Linked DNA regions of Homo sapiens: all the other regions are linked to region 2. The links are contacts of gene promoters, found by promoter capture Hi-C in human tissues and cell types (Jung and others, 2019). All regions are on one chromosome and are shown on one strand. Each heading gives the region's core, a stretch centred on a gene start or on the middle of the fragment in contact. The rest is flanking DNA. Distances are from core to core; before and after follow the strand shown. Region 1 overlaps SIN3A (SIN3 transcription regulator family member A). Region 2 holds the start of PTPN9 (protein tyrosine phosphatase non-receptor type 9). Region 3 overlaps SIN3A (SIN3 transcription regulator family member A). Region 4 overlaps SIN3A (SIN3 transcription regulator family member A). Region 5 has its middle 38 kb from the start of MIR4313. Region 6 holds the start of LOC101929408 (a long non-coding RNA gene).

Region 1 (2,700 bases), core at 179-2,678, 160 kb after region 2:
TGAGGTCAGGAGTTCAAGACCAGCCTGGCCAACATGGTGAAATCCCATCTCTACTAAAAATACAAAAAAATTAGTTGGATGTGGTGACATGCGCCTGGAATCCCAGCTACTCAGGAGGCTGAGGCAGGAGATATCACTTGAACCCAGGAGGCAGAAGTTGCAGTGACCCGAGATTGCGCCATTGCACTCTAGCCTGGGAGACAAAATGAGACTCCCATCTCAAAAAAAAAAAAAAGAAAAAGACTGGCTTAAATCACATCAAATGTTTATTTCTGAAATTTCTTAAACCTGATATTTTGTATAATTTTAAATATTTAGGCTTCAGTTAAACTACCAAAATAAAACTTAACGTATCTCAGAGTAAATAGGAAACACCTAGTGGGGATTTCTTTTGGGTGTCTCTGTCCTAAATCAGACTCATAGCTTAGCCTTTCCAACCTGTTCTTCTTTGTGATAGGTCAGTTTTTTTTCTCCCCCAGCCAAACTGTATCCAGCTTTAAAGATACTTTCCAAAAACAGTCATGGTATTTCAGGCAGAACATGGACAATCCTTAACAATGAGCTACCAAAAAAAAAAAAGCCACTATAAAACCCAGTGAAGTCTCATTTGATGCTCTGAACAGGGAAAGTTTAGAGTGAAGGTTGACACTTCACATTTAGCATGTTGTTTAACAACTTTTCACAAGCCAACCCTGACTTTCAGGAAGTGAAATGAAAATGGCAGGACTTATCTGAAGATCCACAGTCTAGAAAAAGCAACCACTGCTCTTTTGAGGGCTGCCATTTCAGTGGCATCACTGGAAAGTTTGACTGCCTGACATATTGGTAACCAGTTATTGGGGGTTAGGTCCCAACAGGTGTCTGGGTAAAAGGGAGTTAGGTCTGTGAAGGTGGGGAGGGAGAACAGGATGTAAAAATGAATTTGTTTTTCCATCCCACAAGGTGTTTGTGCCAAGGTGGCCATGTGTGTTAAAAGTCAGGGAATCTAGGCTGGGTGTGGTGGCTCACGCCTGTAATCCCAGGACTTTGGGAGGCTGAGGCTGGCAGATCACTTGTGGTCAGGAGTTTGAGACCAGCCTGGCCAATGTGGTGAAATCCTGTCTGTACTAAAAATACAAAAATTAGCCAGGCATGCTGGCGGGTGCCTGTAACCCCAGCTACTCAGGAGGCTGAGGCAAGAGAATCGCTTGAACCCCGGAGGCAGAGGTTACAGTGAGCCAAGATCGCACCACTGCACTCCAGCCTGGGCAACAATAGCAAAACTCTGTCTCTAAATAAATAAGTAAATAAAGTCAGGGAATTTCTTCTATAAGCCAAGAGGAAGTCTCTCAAAACTAGAAGGGAAAGGTGTTTTCCCCACGTCAGTCCAGCTTCAAAGACATTCTATTAGTGACCTGTGATCCTTCCCACCAAAACAACAATGAAGTGTTCTGTGTGCGATAACAACACTGCTTTAGAAAAAGCAAAACAAAATTCTGCATTTTTATAAAGCTTGATTTAAACAATGGTATTTCAAAATTTACAAACTTCATAACTTTATAGTTCAAACTTTACAGTCACCAGAAGTACACAGTTACCAAAAATGCACATGTTTCACTTGGCATCTCTAGCACCTTCAGCTTTCTGTGCCTGGTCTGTTTTGGCATCTCCATTTCCTGCAAGGTTATTCCCCTCCCTGCCAGTGTCAGCATTTTCCTTTTTCCCTTTGGGTACCTCCTCTCTCTCCTTTGCAGGGGACTTTTTTTTTTTTTTTTTTTTTCCTGAGACCGAGTTTCACTCTTGTTGCCCAGGCTGGTGTGCAATGGCATGATCTCGACTCACCGCAACCTCCGCCTCCTGGGTTCAAGTGATTCCCCTGCCTCAGCCTCCCGAGTAGCTGGCATTACAGACATGCGCCACCATGCCTGGCTAATTTTTGTATTTTTAGTAGAGATGGGTTTCTCCGTGTTGGTCAGGCTGGTCTCGAACTCCTGACCTCAGATGATCCTCCCACCTCTGCCTCTGAAAGTGCTGGGATTGCAGGTGTCAGCCACTGCGCCCAGCCTGCATCCTTTTTAGGGTTGGGCTCTGGCTTTGGAGGAGCAGGTTTAGCATACAACCTTGCGGATCTTCTCTGGGTTGTTCTTCACCTTGGCTCTATCTCCTTTAGCATCCCCTTCAGGCTTTCTCTTGGGTGTGGTGGTGATGTGGAAGGATGTAAGCGCTGAGTGCGGGATGCAGTGGCATGTGGGCTTTGATCGGTCCGAGAGTCACTCTTGACTGTTCTTCCTCAGTGCTCCGTGGCGGATCACTTTTGAATGCTGGCTCTCCCTTAGCTCCTCTATTCAGTCAGTTCCCCAATCCTGTCACTTCTACTACCCAAAAAGCTTTTTTATCTATGCAGTTCTCTCTGTTGTTCTGGGCCAGTACTATAATTCAAGCCACTGTTTTCACATGAGTTGTCCAGTTATTCCTGTAGCATACCTGGTCTTCCTACCTCCTTTCAATCTTTTCTGCTCTTGTGCCAATTTTTTCTCAACACTGCAGTCAAATTGCGTACACGAAAATGCAGATGATAAAAATCTAAATTGCTTTTTCACAAGATTTACAAATCCTTTCAGAATCTAGATCCTGCTTTTTTTTCTGTCTCATTTTGTTACTTTTCCTTCCTCTTCACTACAGATCCTCCAGCCAAACTAAACTGTTTTCAGATTTCTAAAT
Region 2 (2,700 bases), core at 155-2,654:
AATACAAAAAAATAAAAAAAATAAAAATAAAAATTAGCCGGGCGCGGTGGCGGGTGCCTGTAGTCCCAGCTACTTGGGAGCCTGAGGCAGGAGAATGGCGTGAACCTGGGAGGGGGAGCTTGCAGTGAGCCGAGATCGCGCCACTGCACTCCAGCCTGGGTGACAGAGTGAGACTCCGTCTCAAAAAAAGAAAAACAAAAAAGCCAGGCGCGCGGTGGCTCACGCCTGCCTGTAATCCCAGCACTTTGGAAGACCGAGGCGGGCGGATCACAAGGTCAGGAGTTCGAGACCAGCCTGACCAACATGGTGAAACCCCGTCTCTACTAAAAATACAAAAATTAGCCGGGCGTGGTGGCTCGCACCTGTAATCCCAGCTACCCAGGAGGCTGAGGCAGGAGAATCGCTTGACCCCGGGAGGTGGAGGTTGCAGTGAGCCGAGATCGCGCCACTGCACTCCAGCCTGGGCGACACAGAGACTCCGTCTCAAAAAAAAAAATAAAAAAAAAATCATAGGAGCATCACAACTCACAGCACCTTCCTGTTGTCTGAAGGCCCCTCCTTTGGGTCCCTCAGGACTGGCTCCAGGGCTTCAGCCTTGGAACTAGTTGTGGACTTTGGGTCCCTTTGGAATATTTATCTTTGGCTTGGAATAATGCAACAACGTACCAGACCCAGCCTTGCCTTCTCTATGCCCCATTCCTCCCCAAATGACTCCAAGACTGTACCCCTAATCCTGAACCCTTTGCTGCACTTGCCCTAGTGAAAATCAAAGGTCTGCAAAGGCCGCGTCATTCCTGAATGATGTTCGGAGTCTGATGTCGTTTCTATGGGGGATTAAAATTAGCGACACTGGAGATGAATTACAGGGTGCAGCCAGTAAGGAGGGAGAGAGAGGGAGGCAGGTGCGATTCCTTCCACCTAAGCATCCTGGCCTGGCAGGCAACCTTTCCAGGGTCTTTCAGGCTGCAAGCGACAAATAGTTGAGGATTGTGGGTTTCTCACGCGTAGGTGGCAGCGGCAAGTTAACCCCAGGAGAGGTGCCAGTCAGCAGATAATTTGCAAACGAACGTATTCTCCTCCTCCTCCGAGGATCTGAGCCTCACGAAATACTCTTTTCTTCCTTTTTCTCCCTCCCGCAGTCGAGTTGCCTTCCGTCCAGCTAGGGTCCCCTCCCCGCCCGGGTCCCCTCCCCCTCCCGGTCCCCTCCCCCGCCCGGGCTCCTCTCTGTCTCCCCCTCCCGGACTGCGTCCTCGCTCCGCCGGGCCCTCCTCGCCGCCAGCTTGTGAATGAGACGCTCAGTTTCTCAATGGAGCCGCGGGGGGCTCGGGCGGCCGCGGGGCGGCCGCAGCGTTGGCCGTGAGTCAGGAGGGGGGCGCGTTTCCCTCGCTCCCTCTCCACTCCCTCCCTTTCGCTGCGGCCGCCCGCGAGGAGCCTGGCTGAGGCAGCCGCGCAGGTCGCAGGGCCAGCGTCCGCGAGGACGGCCCGGCTGGGCGGCCCCGAGCTCTGTGGCGCTGTGGAGGAGCGGGAGCGCGGCCGAGGAAGCGGGGCGCCGAGGGGGTCGGCGGCCTTCGGGAAATTTCCGCCGACCCTTCGCTCCCGGCTCTAAAAGTTCCTGATTTCCTATTTCCTTTTAAATCCCGAGTGGCTGTTAGCTCTTCGCCTGCACTTTTTCTTCCCCAGGAGATAAGGGGGAGTGTGAGGAACGGAGCGAATAATATAAAAAAGGATTTCCTCCCGGAAGAGAGCGGCAGTTCGGAGAGATTTTTCTTAAGGAAGCAGAAGCGGCGTTTGCGGCCGCTGCAGGCGCCGGGCCCTGCCGGCCACACTATGCGCGAGCCGGCCCCGGGCTGCTGAGGCGCGGGGACGCGGAAGCGGAGGCCGAGCGCGCCGGGCTCCCGCGCTCGCGAGCGAGTTTTGTCCGCCCGGCGGCGGTGGCGGGGGGATGGAGCCCGCGACCGCGCCCCGGCCCGACATGGCGCCGGAGCTGACCCCGGAGGAGGAGCAGGTAAGCGGGCCCGAGGCCGCCGCGTTGGGTGTGTCCGGGCCCCCGAGGCCTACGCCGGCCTCTGCCTCCCGAGTGCCGGCTCTTTGCAGCCACGGGGCCGCAGCCCCCCGCTCCCGTGCCCGGCTCGCGGGCCTCCCTCACCGGCGACCGCGCCCCAGGCCGCCACCCCCTCGTCGGGGGACCCACGGGACCCTACTCCCGTTCCCGCCGCTTCTTTCGCCGAGGCTTACCAGCCTCAGACGGTGCCCTCCGCACCCCACCCCCTATTCCAGGGGCAAAGTTCCTTGGATCCAGGGGCCTTCTTCCCGAGATTTGCAGAACCGCTGCTTGCCCCCGGCCCTTCCACTCCCTTGTAAATGTTTTCCGTGAGGGTTTGTGGCTTTTGAAGGGCAGGAAAAGCCCCAGTTTGGGGGGTGCTTCCTGTGGGGATTATCTCCCTTCCCGAGGAGAGGGCTGAGAGTATTGGATGCATAGATGCCCTAGATTTTCAGAGGAGCCTCTTAGGTTTCTCAGGCCCACTTGGGCAGGTTATGGAAGATCCAGCCCTTCTCGTGTTCCTAAAGTCCCTGGCCTTGACCCCCCTATTCAGCTATCCCAGACGGGGCGCATCTCCTCACCCGCGCTTCCCTACCCTCGTCTCATCTGACTGTCTCCATCTTTCTGAAGCTTACATTGAGCTCTATTGTTCCTTAAAA
Region 3 (2,700 bases), core at 198-2,697, 150 kb after region 2:
TCAGCAGATGTGTAGGATACAGGCCTGAAAGTGGAATTGATAGTTTCAGTATTCCAAAATCTAGTATGTTTTAGAGTTCATTTCTTATACTCGTGGATAAACTTTGATCTGATTCTTACATAGTTTTCCATAATATGCATGGGATGGGTATGCACATTTAAAATTTTAATAAATACCTACAAGTTGCCAGCTAAATAGGCTGTACCAATTAAAGCCTCCTCCATCAGTGTTTCCCTGTATCCTTACCCACACTGTCATCTTTTTTTTTTTTAAATTGCTTTGGAGTAAATTACTTTTTTTTTTCTTGAGGCGGAGTTTTGCTCTTGTTGCCCAGGCTGGAGTGCAGTGGCGCGATCTCGGCTCACTGCAGCCTCTGCCTCCCAGGTTCAAGCGATTTTCCTGCCTCAGCCTCTCGAGTAGCTGGGATTACAGGCATGCACCACCATGCCCGGCTAATTTTGTGTTTTTAGTAGAGACAGAGTTTCTCCATGTTGATCAGGCTGGTCTCAAACTCCCGACGTCAGGTGATCCACTCGCCTCGGCGAACCAAAGTGTTAGGATTGCAAGTGTGAGCCACGGCGCCTGACCTTTTATTTTTTTTTTTTTTGAGACAGTTCCACTCTATTGCCCAGGCTGGAGTGCAGTGGCGCGATTTCGGCTCACTGCAACCTCCACCTCCCAGGTTCAAGTGATTCTCGTGCCTCAGCCTCCTGAGTAGCTGGGATTACAGGCGCCCACAACCACACCCGGCTAATTTTTGTATTTTTAGTAGAGGGAGGGTTTCACCATGTTGGCCGGTCTGGTCTTGAACTCCTGACCTCAAGTGATCCGCCTGCCTCGGCCTCCCAAAGCGCTGGGATTACAGGCATGAGCCACCGCGCCCGGCCTACTTTACACGTTTTTTATTACTAGTGAGGCTATATATGGTTTTAGAGGGCAAGGGCTGAAATCATCTACCAACTTCATATCTACTCACTGAACATTTGCTTTTAATGAATGAATGCTACTAAAGCATTTCTGCTTTATTAGGTTTAGGCTGAAGAAGGATGAGTTAGCTAAGTGTGTGAAAGGTTAAAAAAAGCTGAACTTGCTCCCTGCATGTGTGCCTTAAATAAGTAAAGGGATTCTTCCTTCACTTCTTCTCTTCTGTGAGAGGTAAGGTAGTGAAGTAGTTAAGAGCCAGGCTCTGGAGACAGATTTCCTGGATTTATATCACAGCTTTGCCTCTTACTAGCTGTGCAACCTTGGGCAGTTTACTTAATCTTTGTTTTTCAGTTTCCTCATTCATAAATTAGAGAACACCTTGCTTATAAGGTTGTTGTGAAGGATGATCAGGGCCTGAAACCAGGAGGTATGATTAGAGCGGAAGCAATTTATTTGAGAGAGAGTTAGGAATAGAACTTTGAGTGGTAATTGTTTGTTTGTTTGTTTGTTGTTGTTGTTTTTGAGATGGAGTCTTGCTCTGTCGCCCAGGCTGGAGTGCAGTGGCATGATCTCGGCTCACTGCAAGCTCTGCCTCCCGGTCCACGCCATTCTCCTGCCTCAGCCTCCCGAGTAGCTAGGACTACAGGTGCCCGCCACTACGCCTGGCTAATTTTTTGTATTTTTAGTAGAGACGGGGTTTCACCATGTTAGCCAGGATGGTCTCGATCTCCTGATCTCGTGAGCCACCACGCCCGGCCTATGAGTGGTAATTGTTAAAGGAATAAAGTATGGTTCAGAGAAAGTTCAGCCTCTGTAGTGTTGTAGAGGTGGTATGGAAAGCAAACTCTGGAGGTGGATGAAGTTAAGTACCATATGAAATCCCAATCACTTAATAAAAGAAACGATATTTTAACAGCCAAAAGATAGAGTATGATATCAGAATAAACCATAGTACTGTAATACTTAATGTATGAAAAGCTCACTACAATCTTCTTTTTCCTTATAGACTGGTTCATAAACCAGCATTTGGAAATCACTAATGTAGGCTGATCCCCTCCTTTTGCCCCTGTTTGAAAACAGGGCCAAAATTAGAAAGCTTCATGGTAGATAGAGTTTGGAGTAGAATCCAGTTCTTTTTTGTTTGTTTTTATTTTTTGCCCTCAAACATTCTCCCATCCAACAGAATCCAGTTCTTAAAAGGTACTCTAGTGTTTTTTCTATAGTCGTGCCGTGCTCTTCACATCTGATTTTGGCTTATTATTTATAAAGTTTTTTTTTGTTGTTGTTATTTTTTGAGACAGTCGCGCTGTCCCCCAGCCTGGGGTGCAGTGGTGCGAATTTGCTCACTGCAACCTCCGCCTCCCAGGTTCAAGCGATTCTCCCGTCTCAGCGTCCCAAGTAGCTGGGATTACAGATGCGTGCCATCATGCCCAGCTAATTTTGTATTTTTAGTAGAGACTGGGTTTCACCATGTTGGCCTGGCTGGTCTCGAACTCCTGACTTCAGGTGATCCACCCACCTCGGCCTTCCAAAGTGCTGGGATTACGGGTGTGAGCCACTGTGACCAGCCTATGAAGTTTTTGTTTTTTAAACCCAGTGCTGCCCTATCATAACATTTCTATAATTTTTTTTTTTTTTTTTTTTTGAGACAGAGTCTCAGTCTGTTGCCCAGGCTGGAGTGCAGTGGTGGGACCTCCCCTCATGCAACCTCTGCCTCCTGGATTCTAGCGATTCTCATGCCTCAGCCTCCCAAGTAGCAGGTTTTACAGGTGTGCG
Region 4 (2,700 bases), core at 141-2,640, 190 kb after region 2:
GAAGTCTTTCATACCACCAGCACAGCTTAAAAAAAAAATCCAATAAAACTAACTTTTAATAATTCTGAGGTTGGTTTTCGAAACAATAGTTACAATTATTTACTGTATCTGGTTATGATTTTGAATCAGTAATAAATACTATCTCCACCCACCCCCCGCTTTTTTTTTTTTTTTTTAATGGAAACAGGTTTCATCCAGAAAACCCCAAAACAGTGACTTTTTTTTTTTTTTTTTTTCCAACCCAGGGTCTCACTCTATTGCCCAGGCTGGAGTGCAGTGGTGTGATCAGCTCACTGTAGCCTTGACCTCCTACCTCAGCCTCCCAAGTAGCTGGGACCAAAGGGGCCACCACACCGGCTAATTTATTGTATTTTTTGTAGAGATGGAGTTTTGCCATGTTGTCCAGGCTGGCCTCAAACTTATGGGCTCAAGCAATTCACCTACTTCAGCCTCCCAAAGCGCTGCGATTACGGGCATGAGCCACTGTGCCCAGCCTACAGTGACTTTTTAAAACATTTTCAAGCTTCTCAACTCCTTTAACTGGAGGTATCTCTTCTCTCATTCTCCTCATATTTGGTGTTCCCTCAGATTCCACTGCTGACTGAATGTACAACATATATTTCAAAGTCAAGGCTGGTCATGGTGGCTCATGCCTCTAATACCAGCACTTTGGGAGTCCAAGGCGGGCAGATATATTGAGTCCAGGAGTTGGAGACCAGCCTGGGCAACATGGGGAAACACTATTTGTATTAAAAATACAAAAAATTAGCTGGGCATGGTGGCACATGCCTGTAGTCCCAGCTACTCAGGAGGCTAAGGTGGGAGGATCATCTGAACCCAGGAAGTTGAGGCTGCAGTGAGCCGTGATTGCACCACTGCATTCCAGCCAAGTGAAGCCATTACATTTATCTTACCTATTGTAGGCTGGCTTAAGAGGGATTTGTATTAAGAATACAATAGGCAACCTCACAGACATCCAAGTACAGAACTCAAAATAGGACCACACCATGGAAGGATTGGGCTGGGAGGTGATTTTTCTCTCCTGCATGCCTTCACTCTGGACTTCTGCTCCATGCTTGTGCTTTGCTCTGCAGATGAACATACGGCATGTGCTCCAGGCTCCTCCAGCCTCTGAGGCTTTGGCTTGCCCTCCCAGTACCCCTGGTCCCAGTGTTACTAGACCTTTCCATACAGATGCTCCTCCTCAAAAAATCTATTGAACACCCTCTCTGTCATCTCCAATTAGCAAGATAGAGAATCTGATCTGCTTAGCAGTGGGGGTGGGAGTTCCGTAGCTGTCTCTGGATTTGTAGTGCTGTCTTTTCTGAAGACTCGAGGAGGGGCCAGATATCCAAAAAGAGAGTATGGGTGGGGAATCAGTAATACAGTCTACTTCAACAAGAAAGTATAAAGTAGAGGCGGTGGCTCACGCCTGTAATCCCAGCAGTTTGGGAGGCCAAGGCGGGTGGATCACTTGAGCTCAGAAGTTTGAGATCAGACTGGGCAACATGGCAAAACCCCGTCTCTTCTGAAAATACAAAAAAGTTAGCTGGGCGTGGTGGCACATGCCTGTAGACCCAGCTACTTAAGAGGCTGAGGTATGGGAGGGTTGCTTGAGCCCAGGAAGTTGAGGCTGCACTGAGCCAAGATCACGATGCCACTGCACTCCAGCCTGGGCGACAGAGCGAGACTCTGTCTCAAAAAGAAAGTAGAAAGTGGAAGCATCTGTATGTATGATTGAAGTCATGCTTTCCATCTGTTTTTTTCCACCTTTTCTTTTTTCTCCTAAAACACTGTATCTTAATCTTCCTCATGATATCAGGTACTCATAAGCATTATTTTAATGGTTGTATCAGAATCCTTTATCTGGACTCATTGTGATTTATTTATCCATCTGTAGTTGCTGGAGATACTGCCCTTTCTGCCACACTCAGTCACCGTTCTGACCTTTCACTGTGTCCAGTTATCTACTAATACACATACTGGTCATTTAGGACTTAAGAATAAATAGTTATCATGGTTCCTAACACTTAAAAAGAATGTGTCTTCCTAAAAATAGAATGGCTTGGTGGTTATGATCATCTTAAAGTTTTTTAAACAGACAAATCAATATTGAAATTAACGTTTTGCTTTCTTCTTGTATCTATTTTTCACTTCTGTCATTTTGATGATAAAGTTTCATTTGGAAGGATTTTTATTTCAAAATAGAAATAGCATGACATGAGAATGGGAACTCTGAAACGTTCAACTTTCTAGTCATTAGTTTCCTAAGATTGTCACAAAAGCTACTGATAGTCAATCATGATTGGCCTGTATGGAAAGTGAGTTAACTTTATGTACAACTTAAGCCCTATACTTTCTATCAGATACAGAAAAATAGGTGATGTGTTTGGAAAAGTATTGGGCTAGGAGTCAGGAACCTTGACTTTTAGTCCCAACCCTCCTTCTTCAGCTGAGCACCCCTGGGCAATAATTCAGCAGCTATTTCTTAAATACTTAATGAGTTTCAGGCTTTGTAGTTGGCCTGGGAATATAGACATAGATACTGCATTCATGATTCTCCAAGGCTCCCTTCCTCACCCCAGCTCACGGTGAGCTTTGCAGTGGTGCAGTCTCGGCTCACTGCAACCTCCATCTCCCAGGTTCAAGCGATTCTCCTGCCCCAGCCTCCCAAGTAGCTGGGATTACAGGCTCCTGCCA
Region 5 (2,700 bases), core at 68-2,567, 220 kb before region 2:
TTCTCTGGTTTACCATCCCCATGACTCAAGAATTAAAGATGTCAGACCTGGAACAGTGGCCCTTATCTCAACTTTGGTTCCTCTTTGCTAAATCTATTCCTGTAATTTTGTGCTGAGTGCTCATGTCCTTTATCTCCTTGAATTTACGTATATTAGTTTATCGAATTGCAAGTAGACAAGCCCCATTAAGCAGGATTCTTATATTTCCAAGGTCATCTCATTACTCCATTCAACCTCAAATTAGTATGCCATTTATCCCCTTATTTCCGAACCCCCTTCACTTAATAGTCTCATAAGCATCCATCCATCGCAAAAAGGACTCGAACTTTTCTCACTTCCATTTTTAGTTGATTCATTGCTATCCAAGTAATGATTTGTCTGGGGGAGTGATTAGTAGAGAATTGTGCCCTTAAATTTAGTTTTATAGTTGGATTCTGCTAGTTACTATCTCTCTGTCATTCTCACATTGCAACAAATGACTGGGTTTCTGTCTCAACCTAAAATGTAGGTTAGAAATTTGATCTTATCTGAATAAGATATTAATAGATAATGTGAGACTTTTTAAAATTTACTGAAATGTTTCTCAGCCAAGAATGACACTCATGGTCACAAATATGTATGTAAGCAAGCAGAAAATTGAGCTTTAAATATATAAACTCTTAAAATATCATATTTAGAGACTATGTTTTTTTCTTTCTTAGTAAAGTATATTTGCTATGGTTGGAATGATTGTGTCTCCTCCAAAATTCATGTTGGAACTTAAACCCCAATGTGATAGTATTAAGAGGTGGAGTCTTTAGGAGATGACTAAGCTGTAAGGAGGAGCCCCCTCGTGAATGGGATTAGTGACCTTATGAAAGGGCTTGAGGGAGCTACCCAGCTCGGTTTTCTTCTTTTGCTTTTCTGTTCTTTCCACCATGCTGGGACACAGCATTCCTCACCTCTGGAGGTCTCAGCATTTAAGGTGCCATCTTGGAAGCAGAGAGCAGCCCTCACTAGACTACAAACCTGCTGGCGCTTTGATCTTGGACTTCCCACCCACCAGAACTGTGAGAAATACATTTTTGTTCTTTACACATTACCCAGTCTCAAATATTTTGTTACAGCAGCACACATGGACTAAGACAGTATCTTACATTCAGCGAGGTGCCTATACCTTAAGCTACAACTCCTTACTATTTACATATGTGCACACTTATGTGACCGCCACTCAGTTCAAGATACAGAATGTTCCCATCAGCACAGAGGGCTCCCTCTTGCCCCTTCTCAGTTGCTGTCCCCTCAAAGTTAACCAGGATCCTGACCTCTGCAACCATGGATTAGTTTCGCCTGTTCTTTAGCTTCATATAAATGGGACCATTCAGTATGTGCACGTTTGTGGCTGGCTTCTTTCATTCAATATAATCCTGTGAGATTTAACCACGTTTTGGGTACTGGTAGCTGTTTATTTTTCTGGTTGTGTAGTTTTCCATATTTCATTTATTACCCTGCTATTTTTGTCTCTAACTCAGTGTCTTGTGGGGTCTATTGTTCCTTTTTAGCTGGATTGATACTAAGTGTCTTCTTATCAATGGAGCTTAGGACATTTTAGAAGATGAAAGCCTAATAACCCCAAGCCCCCCAATCTTAAGCCAAGTTTCCTCCTCACGCCTGCTTCAGTTGCTCTTCTTCATGTGGTATTTTTTCCCTCACAAAACTGATGGAAATTAAGAAACCCAAAAGCTCTTCATCATGTTATCAGCTTAGGGACGCTTGTCATCTGAATAACAGGGTAGATATTTATCATCTGAAATGTTAAAATAACTAGAGCAAACACTTACATAGCACTAACTGCTGTTCACAGTGCTTTACATATATTATTTTCCTCAAAACTGCTCTGTGAAATAGACACTATTATTGTCATCCCCACATTTTAGATGGGGAAATGGAGGCACAGAGAGACCATGTAACTTTCCCAAGGTGGTAAGGCCAGGACTTGAACCTGTGTTTTCTGGTTTTAGAGCCTGCACCCTTCACCACCACACCATATTGTGTAGCATGATACTTCCTCTGGTTAAAGTGTTTTCTTCTATTTACGTGGGAGCATTTTCTGAATAATTTGAATCTTATAAATTAGCTTCAAATAATACAAGTAAATTGAAATGGAAGATCTAATATAGAATGTGTGGCATTCATGAATAAATTATAGGACTCCCTGGTTTTAAGTAATAATTATTTGCTTATCTTGTGACTTTTGTCAGCAGGGCTGTAATGTGCTCACCTCATTTTCCTTCTCTTCAATAGAAGGAGATGGACTCAGAGACAGGCACAATTTATCATAAAATCTCATCACACTTTCCCTCACCATCTGGAAGCTGGAGATAGGTTAGTGAAATCTTGGTTGAGAAAGAGTTGAATGCTGCTTGTAGCATAGTGAGTTTCAGAAAGATGGTTTTATTTGCTAGTTCTATTGCATAGGGTCCTGCAAGTTTTGGCAATTAACATATATGACCAACAGTTTTCTCACAAAGATTATCAGGATTCTAGAAGAAATTATATTCCAGTTTTATCCTGCTGCTAAAGTCCTATATTTCTTTATATAAGAACTAATTAATTCTTTGTCACTTTTCATTAGACATTTCTCTGCCTCTTTATGCTGTGCTTTATGTCTCTTTGTGCTCAGCCCCAGGTTTTTCCTTCTAACTGCAAGATTATTGAAAT
Region 6 (2,701 bases), core at 23-2,522, 180 kb before region 2:
AGCCTTAAAGAGTTCCCATCCGGCCCTTTACAGAAAACGCTTGCTAACCCCTGCACTGATCCACCTAATGGAATACACTGCCCACTCCGTGAGTTGATCCTAGTAGGAAATGTTGCTGATAATTTAACAGCTGCTGCTTTTATGTTTTATTTTGTCCCTGCTCTGGTGGGAGACATGTAAGAAAATTCACTCCCTGGGAGGAGGTCATGGTGGGGCTTGTGGCCATCAACGGTGAAGCCTCTTTAAGAGGATGCGTGGGGAGCTCTACCATCTGCTGAGAGGGTTGTGAGGGGCCCTCTGTGTTGAGGAATGAAGAGGGAACGCTGCCTGTGTGCTGGGAGCTGGCTTTCTGGGGAGCAGAAGAGATGGTGGTTCGGGCCTGCGGAGGCAGAGGCCCAAACCAATCTGGTCTCTGGGGCTGCCGGCAGGGAGAGTAGTTGTGTAGGAGTGGGTGCAGGGGCAGAGCCTGAAGGAGGGCACCCCTGACTGCACCCCCAGGAGGCTGTGGTGGTGGGGGTGGGGCAGCACTGTAGGAGGACCAGCGCCTTCTGTGGCTGAGGGGTCCTTGGAGAGCAGCTCCAGGCAATGCGTAGCTGGAGGGGACTGATTTGACCCAGCGCTCTCCTAAGCCACAATGCCCGGCCTAATGTACTGTTTATTTAAAATTCTAAGGATCTTTAATAATTTTAATAAGGATCTTTAAATAATTTTCCATGGATCATATTTTTATTGCATTTTAAAATAATTTACAATTTGCTTTCACACATATTCTCCCTCATCTGATCCTCACAACTGCCCTGGGAAGGAGGTTGGAGACAGAGTTGGGGCCTGTTAGGAGACAAATTTACACAATGCATAAGAAAGCTCACTGTGAGCCGGGGTGAAGAAGGGAGGCTTGGAGAATCATGAATGCAGTATCTATGTCTATATTCCCAGCCCAACCACAAAGCCTGAAATTCATTTAGGTATTTAAGAAATAGCTGCTGAATTATTGCCTAGGGGTGCTCAGCTCAAGAAGCAGGGTTGAGACTAACAATCAAGCTTCCTGACTCCTAGCCCAATACTTTTCCAAACACACCACCTATTTTTCTGTATCGGATAGAAAGTATAGTGCTTAAGTTGTACATAATGTTAACTCACTTTCAATACAGGCCAATCATGATTGACTATCAGTAGCTTTTGTGACAAACTTAGTAAACTAGGAAGTTGAACCTTTCAGAGTTCCCCTTCTCATGTCATATGCTATTTCTGTTTTGAAATAAAAATCCTTCCAAATGAAACTTTATCCATCAAAATGACAAGAGAAGTGAAAATAGATACAAGAAGAAAATAAAACATTAATTTCAACATGGCTTTGTCTATTTTGCTTTAAAAGTATAACCACCAAGCCATTCTATTTTTAGGAAGACACATTCTTTTTGGAATGTTAAAAACTATGATAACTATTCTTAAGTCCTAAATGACCAGTATGGGTATTAGTAGATAACTGGACACAGTGCAAGGTCAGAAGGGTGACTGAGTGTGGCAGAAAGGGCAGTATCTCCAGCAACTGCAGATGGATAAATGACAATGAGTCCAGATAATGGATTATGATACAACCATTCAAATAATGCTTATGAGTACTTGATAACATAGGCAAAAGCTTAAGATACAATGTTTTAGACAGAAAAAAGGGAAGGTGGAAAAAAATAGATGGAAAGCATGACTTCAATCATGCATACTGATGCTTCCACTTTATTTTTATTTTTTGAGACAGGGTCCCACTCTGTTGCCCAGGCTGGAGTGCAGTGACATCATGATCTCGGCTCACTGCAGCCTCTACTTCCTGGGCTCAAGCAGTGCTCCCACCCTAGCCTCCTAACTACCTGGGACTACAGGCATGTGCCACCATGCCCAGCTAATTTTTTGTATTTTTAGTAGAGATGGGGTTTTGCCATGTTGCCCAGTCTGGTCTCAAACTCCTGAGCTCAAGGGATCTGCCTGCCTCGCCCTCCACAAGCCGGCCGGCCTGCTCTGTCTTACCCGCCCCCCCACTCCTGCCCCCCACTCCTGCCCCCGTCTCAGGAGCGGGATGGCGGTGGACTCTTCTCTACCAGACCTGCAGCCCTCACACCCGCACACACTGTGTTTGCGGAGAGGCCAGTGAAGACACCCTCCCCCCGTTTCCGGAGCCACTGTCGCCCCCTCATTCCCGCTCCAGCAGCCCATGCCTCGCTTCACCTCTGGTGCCTCACCATCAGGCCAAGAAGCCAGGGCCCGGGAATTTCTTTTTCCGGTGGCGCCAGGTCAACAGATTCGACGATCACGTGACTTGGACAAACGGCCTCTGGGAGGGCGGGGTCTGCTCGAGTGAGGCCGGAAGCGGACCACAGCCCGCAGGAGGTGCTGGAGGGCGAAATGCTGGCGTCTCCTCCTATGTCTTCCAGAATCCTTCCCTGGAAAAAAAGCAGCGCCCACCGCCAGTTTAACTGAGGACCGAATTAAGACATTAGGAAAGACAGTGGAAGTTATTTCATTTGTTTAACTTAAGGGGGTAGGATCCCGGGAGCCAGGGGGATTCAGGTCATTGCCATGTTTTCCACTGTTAAGCGAATAGCATTATACACAGCTGCGGGCTGCGGCAAAAGACATTTTAAAAACTATTGAAATCTACTACACATGCAGAAAATTGTACCTATTAGAAATATAAAGCTTAATAAGT

What was found. The method cuts DNA at HindIII sites, captures the fragments that hold promoters and counts their contacts. A contact is called where the count stands out against the background at its distance.
Region 1: a fragment that was not itself captured here is called in contact with the fragment with the promoter of PTPN9 in region 2 in 3 of the 25 tissues and cell types used here (H1 embryonic stem cells, adrenal gland and hippocampus).
Region 3: a fragment that was not itself captured here is called in contact with the fragment with the promoter of PTPN9 in region 2 in 3 of the 25 tissues and cell types used here (adrenal gland, pancreas and stomach).
Region 4: a contact is called between a fragment that was not itself captured here and the fragment with the promoter of PTPN9 in region 2, in 1 of the 25 tissues and cell types used here (stomach).
Region 5: a fragment that was not itself captured here is called in contact with the fragment with the promoter of PTPN9 in region 2 in 1 of the 25 tissues and cell types used here (IMR-90 fibroblasts).
Region 6: a contact is called between a fragment that was not itself captured here and the fragment with the promoter of PTPN9 in region 2, in 2 of the 25 tissues and cell types used here (IMR-90 fibroblasts and aorta).

The regions. Positions count from the first base shown.
Region 1 is chr15:75,414,914-75,417,613 of GRCh38, reverse strand. The region is part of intron 3 of SIN3A (SIN3 transcription regulator family member A); the gene reads left to right. Among named protein-coding and RNA genes, the nearest start is that of SIN3A, 35 kb to the left of the region's middle. The HindIII fragment of the contact is 5,110 bases long and covers 1-2,700 here.
Region 2 is chr15:75,578,019-75,580,718 of GRCh38, reverse strand. It overlaps PTPN9 (protein tyrosine phosphatase non-receptor type 9), which reads left to right and starts at 1,404. Exons shown (of 13, transcript NM_002833.4): 1 at 1,404-2,005. The coding sequence starts at 1,943. RefSeq lists silencers at 1,047-1,536, 1,797-2,196 and an enhancer at 1,239-1,837. The HindIII fragment of the contact is 16,601 bases long and covers 1-2,700 here.
Region 3 is chr15:75,432,555-75,435,254 of GRCh38, reverse strand. The region is part of intron 1 of SIN3A (SIN3 transcription regulator family member A); the gene reads left to right. Among named protein-coding and RNA genes, the nearest start is that of SIN3A, 18 kb to the left of the region's middle. The HindIII fragment of the contact is 8,922 bases long and covers 1-2,700 here.
Region 4 is chr15:75,385,038-75,387,737 of GRCh38, reverse strand. All of the region lies in intron 16 of SIN3A (SIN3 transcription regulator family member A), which reads left to right. Among named protein-coding and RNA genes, the nearest start is that of MAN2C1, 18 kb to the right of the region's middle. The HindIII fragment of the contact is 5,935 bases long and covers 1-2,700 here.
Region 5 is chr15:75,799,037-75,801,736 of GRCh38, reverse strand. No RefSeq gene overlaps it. Among named protein-coding and RNA genes, the nearest start is that of MIR4313, 38 kb to the right of the region's middle. The HindIII fragment of the contact is 8,210 bases long and covers 1-2,700 here.
Region 6 is chr15:75,758,147-75,760,847 of GRCh38, reverse strand. LOC101929408 (a long non-coding RNA gene) reads right to left here and starts at 2,306. Exons shown (of 4, transcript XR_932487.3): 1 at 2,221-2,306. The HindIII fragment of the contact is 5,413 bases long and covers 1-2,701 here.